Regions from separate parts of the Homo sapiens genome. Here regions 2 and 3 are each linked to region 1. Evidence: promoter capture Hi-C in 16 types of primary human blood cells and fetal thymus (Javierre and others, 2016). All regions are on one chromosome and are shown on one strand. The core of a region is centred on a gene start or on the middle of the fragment in contact, and the rest is flanking DNA. Distances in the headings are between cores, read along the strand shown. Region 1 holds the start of GAL3ST4 (galactose-3-O-sulfotransferase 4). Region 2 overlaps PPP1R35-AS1 (PPP1R35 antisense RNA 1). Region 3 overlaps AGFG2 (ArfGAP with FG repeats 2).

Region 1 (3,103 bases), core at 359-2,858:
GAGGGGTGCCCTAGCATCAGAAGGGTTCATGGCCCTTTCCCCTCCTCCCCCCTCAGCTGGGCCTGGGGAGGAGTCGAAGGGGGCTGCAGAGAGGGTAGAGAAGGGACTTTGCAGGTGAATGGCTGGGGCCCCAAATCCAGGAGATTTTCATCAGAGGTGGGTGGGTGTTCACAATATTTATTTTTTCATTTGGTAATGGGAGGGGGGCCTGGGGGTATTTATTTAGGAGGGAGTGTGGTTTCCTTAGAAGGTATAGTCTCTAGCCCTCTAAGGCTGGGGCTGGTGATCAGCCCCAACAGAGAAAATGAGGAGTTTAGAGTTGCAGCTGGGGAAGGGGTTTGAAGGAAGTTGGAAGTGGGGAGGGGTGGGGGCATCTGGTCTCAGAAATGGACCAGCTGGATGCAGGGCAGGGGACTGAGGGTGCTTGAGTAGGATGTGAGACTTCATGGGCCTGGGTTCTGTTGAGTTTTTTCAGTATCAATTTCTTAAACCAAATTTTAAAAAAAACAAGGTGGGGGGGTGCTCATCTCGTGACCTCTGCCACCCACATCCTTCACAAACTCCATGTTTCAGTGTTTGAGTCCATGTTTATTCTGCAAATAAATGGTAATGTATTGGACCCCATGTGTGGCTTCTGTGCTGTCACCATCAGTGCCTGAGCCCTGGCTCCTAGCAGAGGTCTCAGAGCCTCTGTGACTGGCTCATTTTCTGCCGGCTTTTCACTTCCCTTGGCACCTGTCCCCCAGGAGGCGGGCCTAGACAATAACCTCTGATCTCCAAATTGCCCACCCTCTGGGCCTCTGAGCATCTTCGTTTGTACAACAGGGAGAATTGTGGGGACCAAATAGAATCTGTGTGAAAAAGCACCTTGTCACCTGCAAAATGCTCTTTGAACATGAGGCTTTTTTTTTTTTTTTTTTGAGATAGAGTCTCGCTGTTGTCGCGAGGCTGGAGTGCAATGGCGCGATCTCAGTTCACTGCAACCTCCGCCTCCCCAGTTCAAATGATTCTCCTGCCTCAGCCTCCTGAGTAGCTGGGATTACAGGCGCCTGCCACCACAGTCAGCTAATTTTTGTATTTTTAGTAGAGACGGGGTTTCACCATGTTGGCCAGGCTGATCGCAAACTCCTGACCTCAAGCGATCCACCAGCCTTAGCCTCCCAAAGTGCTGGGATTACAGGCGTGAGCCACCGCACCCGGCCACGAAGCATTATTAAGGTGACCACACCACTGCCCCCTGCCTTCAGGATGGGAGGCCTTGTTCTCTGAGTGTCAGTCTCTGGCTACCTTGCCACGTCCTTGACAATGTCTGCTTTCAAATATCACTTTCTCCTTCCTTCCTTCTTTCTTTCCACCGCCTGAATGAATCTTTTGTTCTGCGGCAAGCCAAGAGAAAATGGTAGGATTGATTCCCAAGTGTGAAAGCGGGGGCGGAAGTGGTGTCTTCCAAGAGGAGTCTGGGTGCCCTGCCGAAGAGGGGAAGATGCAGCGAGGGAGAGACCTAGAACCGCGATCAAAGCTGCAGCAGCTGCTGGGGCTGGCGGCACAAAGGGAGGAGGGAGGAGCCTGGGCGCTGAGAAAGTTCTTGGGGAAAGTTGAGCTGAGCCAAGAGTCGGGCGGTGGCTGGGATGGGCGGGAGGGCCCGGCCCGATTTCCCTTGCTGCTCCCCTTGTGGCCTGGTGAGTGGGAAGTGAAACCAAGGATAGGACCAGTGGAGGGACCCTCTAATTTATGGGAGGAGACATGAGGGGTTCATGGAACCCCAGCGGGGGCAACTGGGCAGTCACCAAAGCTGGAGGGGACAGAGGGCTGGGATCTCCAATCATGGGAAGGGAGAGATGGATGGAAGGAAATGAAGAACTCTGGATAGGGGAGACGCGGCTAGACCCCAGGGGCTGTGATCAGGGAGGGAATTGGGGAGTGATGCCAGAGAGGGCAGGTCTCCGGGAGTAAAAGTGTGGCTTCTCTCTGCTTGGGGTTACCCCTGGCTCATCGGAGCAGGGAGCTGTCGGGGCTTGTTGGAGGGGCCGTGGTCCCTGATCGCGAGTTGTAATCTGAAGGGGCGGGGCTGGACTCCCGGTTGATTAGGAAGCTCGGGCTTCAGAAGGAACTCTGCAGTTAGTGTTTGCGCCTTTCTCCTTATCTTTGTGTCATAGTCTCTCTGTCCCTCTGTCTCTCTCTCTCTGTTTCTCTGTGTGTGTGTGTGTGTGTGTGTGTGTCTCTCTCTCTTTCTGTCTCCCTCTCCAGCCCCACCCTTTCAGTCTCCTCCGGGTGCACTGATAAGGTTGGAAAGTGGAATGGTGGGTAAGTCCAGGGATCTGGGCTTTATAAGTAGCCACACGTCTCCCCCAGCCCCTGTCATACATGGGGGTCTGCCCCGTGCTGAGACAGAGAAAAAAGAGGCGCGGGAATTTATAACCCAATGGCTCTTACCCATTGCAATGCCACTCCTGGAAGTCCAACCTCCCTTCCTCCTGCCTGGGTTCATACACCTGTGTCCTGTCTGATCCTCATTCCCACTGTATGGCTTCCCTTCCTGGTCCTGGGATAGGGCTCTTTATCCCCATCTGTGACAGCCAGAGGGGCTCTGGAGGAAACCAGGTTCCCGACCATGGTCTGACCTGACTGTGTTAATGAGCTGATTGATCTGATCTCTCTCTCTCTTGCTGGCTGTTTCATTCACGAGCTGGGGCTTTTTCTCTCCTTCCCTTATAAATCCCCAAGGCTCAGGGACAACTGTAGGTGGGGAGCGGGAGGAACTGGAGATAAGAAAGTGATAGAGCAGAGACAGTAGTTGTGGGGCCACCTAGGAGAGTCTGGGTATAGACAACATCCCCAGCCACTCCCCTTCCCTGAAGGAGGTCTCAGCTGCAGCAGGAGAGAAGGCTGCCTCTGCCTCTCTCCTTAGACTTCCCTTCTTCCCCCCTCATTTCCCTTCTAGACGCTGACAGAGGCAAAAATCTGCTAACTCAGGGGGCAGACTCAACCAAGACTGTGAGCAGGCCTGGGGAATGACCCCCCGATCTCCAACCAGTGCCTTCCGCAGCTGCACGGCTGTCTCCAGCTGTCTCTGCCCCTCTTCCTGGCCCTGGCTCCATCTCTC
Region 2 (3,018 bases), core at 233-2,732, 270 kb before region 1:
TTTTTTTTTGAAATGGAGTCTCGCTTTGCTCGCTTTGTTGCCCAGGCTGGTGTGCAGTGGCATGATCTGGGCTCACTGCAACCTCCACCTCCTGGGTTCAAGCAATCCTCCCACCTCAGCCTCCCAAGTAACTGGGATTACAGGCCTGGGCTACCACATACGGGTAATTTTTATATTTTTAGTAGAGACGGGGTTTCAGCATGTTGGCCAGGCTGGTCTTGAACTCCTGACCTCAAGTGATCCATCTGCTTGGGCCTCCCAAAGTGCTGGGATTATAGGCGTGAGCCACAACACCCAGCTTGGATTATGGACAAATTCTTTTGAATGAGACTCTGTCCCCTGCCTCCAACTTTTCTGCATCCCAGCAGCTGGCATCATCCCATGTCCCAGAGACTTCACACATACCTAATGGGGCTCATCTCAACCCTCCTGTTCCTCAGCCTGATGCTGGGGAGGCCAGGCTCAGGGTCAGTGTGTTGGCCTGCAGCCCGATGTGTGCCCTCCTCCCTGGATCTCTTCCTTCTGGGTTGGGACGAAGGCGTGAAGGTGGTTTGGAGTCATGAGTTCAGGCTGAGACACCTCAGACCTACCTGACCTGCTGGGGGATTCACCCTGCCAGCCTCCGAGATGCAGTAGGATGAGAACACGCACTCTGGGGATAGGAGCCTGGATGTGTGTGTGTCTGGAGGTTGGCCATTCCCATCTTCCAGCGTGTCTCGTGTGACAGGGACCAGTGTGGAAGTGTCTCTGGGTTGGCCCTTAGGCATAGGCCAGTTTGAGAATAGGAGACAGGAGGTGAGAGGTCGCCATAGGTGGGGTTTGCAGAGGGTGGTATTAGAGCTTTGCTGTCTCTCTGATCTTTCTTGGCCCTATTTGGGGGTGACTTCCAGGATGACGCCCTTGCTCCTCCCCCACCCCCAACCCTGGCAGGTCTTCCCATGTGTCCTCTGTAGCAGTCTCAGCCACACCGTGCAGTGGACCACTGCATTGGAGGCATCCTACCTCTTCTTAAGGACATGGTCCCTTCAAGGACCCTGGATGCTGACCTGTCTCCTGTCCCACCTAGCCCACCTATAGCACCTGGCTCAGCAGAAGCTCATGGATGACCTTGAATGACCCCTTCCAGCACTGAGACTTGCTTTCTTCAAACTAGCATCCAGGTCTAGGATTACCCCACTCAGCAGCCTCAGATAACTAAAGGAGCATCTCTAACTGGTGAGGTCTAACCCAATCAAAAGTCTTTTTTTTTTTTTTTTTGAGACGGAGTCTCGCTCTGTTGCCCAGGCTGGAGTGCAGTGGTGCGATCTCGGCTCACTGCAAGCTCCGACTCCCAGGTTCACGCCATACTCCTGCCTCAGCCTACTGAGTAGCTGGGACTAGAGGCGCATGCCACCACACCCGGCTAATTTTTTGTATTTTTAGTAGAGACAGGGTTTCACCGTGTTAGCCAGGATGGTGTTAATCTCCTGACCTCGTGATCCGCCCGCCTCGGCCTCCCAAAGTGCTGGGATTACAGGCGTGAGCCACAGCACCCAGCCCAAAAGCCTTATAATAAATAATATTTAAGAGATGGGTGTTGCTCTGTCGCCAAGGCTGGAGTGCAGTGGCGTGATCATAGCTCACTGCAGCCTCGAAGTCCTGGGCTCAAGGGATCCTCCCACCTCAACCTCCCCGGTACCTGGGACTACAGGAATACACCACCACGCCTGGCTAATTTTTAATTTTTTTATAGAGACTGGGTCTCACTATGTTGCCCAGGCTGGTCTTGAACTCCTGGCCTCACAGGGATCCTCCTGCCTCTGCCTCCCAAAGTGCTGGAATTACAGGCATGAGTCACGGTGTCCCAGCCATTTTTTTTTTTTTTTTTTTTTTTTGAGACAGAGTCTCACGCTGTTGCCCAGGCTGGAGTGCAGTGGTGCCATCTTGGCTCACTGCAACCTCCCCCTCTCAGGTTCAAGTGATTCTCATGCCTCAGCCTCCCGAGTAGCTGAAATTACAGGCATGTGCTGCCATGCCCAGGTAATTTTTTGTAGTTTTAGTAGAGAAAGGGTTTCACTGTGTTGCCCAGGTTGGTCTCGAACTCCTGGCCTCAAGTGATCTGCCTGCCTTGGCCTCCCAAAATGCTGGAATTATAGGCATGAACCACCATGCCCTGTCCTCCTCCCCATTTTTTTTTTTTTTTTTTTTGAGACCGAGTCTCGCTCTGTCACCCAGGCTGGAGGGCAGCAGCACAATCTCAGCTTACTGCAACCTCTGCCTCCCCGGTTCAAGCAATTCTTCTGCCTCAGCCTCCTGAGTAGCTGGGACTACAGATGAGTGCTACCACGCCCAGCTAATTTTTTGTCCCCTTTTCTTTTGAAGAGGAAAAGCAATTCCTGGCCTCCCAGCCTGGGCCAGCCAAAATAGCTTAGGAAGAATGTGGGCAGGCCCAAGACCTCTCACCTCCCTCACCTCCACCTTCCGATCTTCACACTCGTACTGTTTTTTTTTTTTTAATTATTATTATTATTATTATTATTTTGAGACAGAGTTTTGCTCTTGTTGCCCAGGCTGGAATGTAATGGCACGATCTCTGGCTCACTGCAACCTCCGCCTCCCAGCTTCAGGCAATTCTGCCTCAGCCTCCTGAGTAGCTGGGATTACAAGCATGCACCACCACACCCGGCTAATTTTGTATTTTTAGTAGAAATGGGGTTTCTCCATGTTGGTCAGGCTGATCTCAAACTCCCAACCTCAGGTGATCTGCCTGCCTCGGCCTCCCAAAGTGCTGGGATTACAGGCGTGAGCCACCGCGCCAGGCCCTGTTTTCTTAAAATCATTGGTGAACATTCCACTTCTTGGAGACCCGCAATGTAAACTGGGCAAACAGAATGGCTTGTTTTCGTCTGTGCTGGGGCCTGAAATGAGTCAGTGACTAGATTTTAAGGCTGAGGAATTGCGTTTACTGGGTTCATGGACACGAACTCCTGTAGGGCCTAGATATTTATCAGCATGGCCAAGGCCTGGGGGACAGTTTCG
Region 3 (3,263 bases), core at 635-3,134, 380 kb before region 1:
TAGCTAAAACCATGTGGCCTAGGTGTGCTGCATTTCACTGGGTACACACCAGGGTCATGCAGCGGACCAGATGTGAGTCACTGGCCTGGAATTAAACAGGCCCAGCTCTCCCACTTGCACCCAGCTCCCCAACATAACTCTCAGGTTCCTCCCAAAAGAGGTAATCACAGCAAATTCATTCTGGTATTTCTAACCAGGAAGTGCTGGGGAGGAACAGAGATCAATTTATTTTCTCAGAATAGAGTAAGTTTTTCCAATGGAAAGTACATTATTACTAGGACTCAAGCCTCCAGCCAGTCAGGTTGTCTTTATCCACTTCAGTTTCTTTTTCACAGGGCACCTAAAGGGCATATGAAGTATTCTGAATTATTTGGCAGCTGAAGCCACTTGTATGTGTAGCTGCTAACAACTGCCCAGTCCTCTCTCTTTCCCTCCCTCCCGTCTCCTCTCTGATTCCATTAGGCATAGTACTATTTCCACAAATACCACACCTTTTGTTTTTCTGTGATCATCACCCTCATGCTGGCCCATATTTTTGCTTCTATCTTGCTTCATAAAAGCATCAAACCTGCTCAGCTGCTCAGATAAGAAAGTTCTGCCAGGTCAACAATGGAAAAAAACCAGTTCCACCCAGCACCCAAGTTCTTTTTCATTTGTGCCAAATTTGGACTTGGGAAATCCTTGCCTTTGAACAATTGTGTTCAGATTCATACACCCCAGATCGTGTTTCTTTGCTCTGGGATTTCACTCCTCTGCTTCTGAACAGGATACAACTAAACCAGTTTAGCTCTTATCTTGGATGCAAACATCACCATGAAGAGTCCCTGTTAGGAACTTTTAATAGTCCCTAAGAGGAAGGCTCTCCTATTACCCTGCTCCAGGGTCAATTTCACTAATTTTAGGAACCCTCTTCCTGATCTAAATTCTGCTTCAACCCATTTCCTTTGTTCCTCCTCAGCAGCAATGATAAACAGCTGTCCTGTTGATTAGAGCCAGGTAGACTCCTGATAGCATCCAGCCGCCCTTCCCTTTAGGCTCAACCTCAATCTTTTTTACATGTCTCCCTCTGCCCTCACCTCTCTCATCCCCACCCCCCCGCCCACCACCCCACGTCGAGCTTTTTCTCATCCCTTTAGTAATTTATCACTTCCTTCGGGGCTTTTCAAGTGGTTCATGCACCCCTTATGAAACAGCACCTACATCTGTAATTTAGTGAGAGACTCTGTCCACCTCTGCCCAGCAGAGGTCAACATGAAAGGTGACAGAGGAGGGGATGGAGGGATGGGACTAAAACAGGGGCAAGGTACATGTGTACCTCTCCAACCCAGACAGATGGAAAAGTACTGAATTATTGAAGAACATACTGTACCTTTCCTCCCATGGAGATTAAAATGCTTCAACTAAGAACCACCAGCAAGCCCGACAGGGAAAGTAAGGCACAAGGAGGGCAGGAACTTGTCACAAATAAAGAGCTGTCAAGTGCATTCTTGACACCCAGCCCAGAGCTCTGCCCACCTTAATTCTGACTCCTGTGATCACAGTAAAGTTGGGCAGAAATAGAAGAGATAAGTGTCTATTACAAACACCTGAAGAACGATGGATTGAAGATGGACCCAAACAGCCACATCAAGGAAATATGTCATACTTTGCTGAAAAAACTGGGTGTCAAAGTTAGCGTCCATCCTTGTGTCAATGAGATCTCAGGCCTCAACATCCATTTTCTTTCTGAGGAACAGTGGTTCATTCACAGACGCATTCAGGCAAACCAGAACAAGAAAGAACATTTAAAGCACTGCTTTGCAAATAGATGCTTTTTAGCAGCAATTTTTACCACGTCTTAAGATTCAAATGACAGATTCATCCTCCAAGAATTAGAAATGTAACTAAACAAACAAGCATATGTGTATGTTGGGGAAATTAAACAGATCCACATCTAGGTTAAGGAAATTAGGTACTGGAAGAAAACCAAATGAATAAAACTAGGTCAGGTGTGGGACCTACAATTGTGGCAGTATGTATGTAAATTTAGGAACAGCAGAAACTAGCAGCCTTTCTCTCAACCCCTCACACCAACGCTGTAGGTTTTTGCTACAGCTGAGAAAATATTTCTCATTAAAAAAGAGAGAACAAGAATGAGTTCATACATGCAGGGATGCAGGCAGAGTCATACCCACCCACCAATATTAAAATGTGTGTTTTTCTTCAGATCTTAGGAAATTCAACTTTGGCTGGAACCATCAACTTTGCTACATCGGCCAATCCAACCAGCTGGGAATTCTAGTAATTTTGCTCACTGCCCCCAGACGACTCTATCCCCTTATGAAGGAGACATATTTGTAACCCACTGAACAGAAAACTGGCCTTTAAAATAATGTCATCCTGCTGTCTCCTTTCTGTGGCTACGGTGCTAATGTGGTATTTCAATTTCTTCCCTCAATATCCTCTTCATTTTAACAAAGAATATTTCTTCTCGAGGCCAGGCACAGTGGCTCACGCCTGTAATCCCAGCACTTTGGGAGGCCAAGGCAGGTGGATCACCTGAGGTCAGGAGTTTGAGACCAGCCTGGCCAACATGGTGAAACCCCGTCTCTACTAAAAATACAAAAATTAGCTGGGCGTGGTGGTGTGCACATGTAATCCCAGCTACCTGGGGAGGCTGAGGCAGGAGAATCGCTTGAAACCAGGAGGTGGAGGTTGCAGTGAGCCAAGATCGGACCACTGCACTCCAGCCTGGGCGACAGAGCGAGACTCCATCTCAAAAAAAAAAATTAATAATAATATTTCTTCTCTTTGCATCATACCTCAGTTTGGTATCACTCTAACCCACAGAGCTTCATTTTACTTCATAGCTTTTAGCAATACAGAACGATTTCTTTATAGTCCATGGCTTCCACTAGGATGTCAGCTCCGTGAAAATGGGAACTTATCACTACTGTATCTCCAGTACCTAAAACAGTGTCTGGCGCTTGATAGGCACTGAATAAGTTCGTGTTGACTGACCGAATGAATAAACATGCAGGCTGTCAGCCGACCACAATTTTCACTTCCCACCAACACCAAACCCTAATCTACAGGTAATCAATCATGGGGATTTAAGATGCTAATTGGTCTCCGTGCCACCATGGAGCCATGCCTCCAGAAATAAGCATCCCCTGCCTCACATTCTGCCTTACAGCCCACCTGCCAGCTCCCACTCCTTCCCACAGCATATCAAAGGGACACAGGTAATACTGTGTTAAGACCCCTTTACAAGGATTATATGC

The links. Contacts are between HindIII fragments. The CHiCAGO score rates a contact against its expected background, and 5 or more counts as called.
Region 2: a fragment that was not itself captured here is called in contact with the fragment with the promoter of GAL3ST4 in region 1 in 11 of 17 cell types (activated CD4 T cells, total B cells, naive B cells and 8 more); the score reaches 9.2 in activated CD4 T cells.
Region 3: a fragment that was not itself captured here is called in contact with the fragment with the promoter of GAL3ST4 in region 1 in 3 of 17 cell types (activated CD4 T cells, total CD4 T cells and naive CD8 T cells); the score reaches 7.4 in activated CD4 T cells.

Annotation. Positions count from the first base shown.
Region 1 is chr7:100,167,122-100,170,224 of GRCh38, reverse strand. GAL3ST4 (galactose-3-O-sulfotransferase 4) reads left to right here and starts at 1,608. Exons shown (of 4, transcript NM_024637.5): 1 at 1,608-1,679; 2 at 2,942-3,103. GPC2 (glypican 2) reads left to right here. Exons shown (of 10, transcript NM_152742.3): 10 at 1-619. The HindIII fragment of the contact is 24,826 bases long and covers 1-3,103 here.
Region 2 is chr7:100,439,779-100,442,796 of GRCh38, reverse strand. It overlaps PPP1R35-AS1 (PPP1R35 antisense RNA 1), which reads right to left. Exons shown (of 3, transcript NR_187540.1): 3 at 2,920-3,018. Among named protein-coding and RNA genes, the nearest start is that of PPP1R35-AS1, 4.6 kb to the right of the region's middle. The HindIII fragment of the contact is 6,057 bases long and covers 1-3,018 here.
Region 3 is chr7:100,542,576-100,545,838 of GRCh38, reverse strand. The region is part of intron 1 of AGFG2 (ArfGAP with FG repeats 2); the gene reads right to left. LOC124901708 (a long non-coding RNA gene) reads left to right here. Exons shown (of 2, transcript XR_007060453.1): 2 at 2,207-2,372. Among named protein-coding and RNA genes, the nearest start is that of AGFG2, 5.0 kb to the right of the region's middle. The HindIII fragment of the contact is 5,846 bases long and covers 1-3,263 here.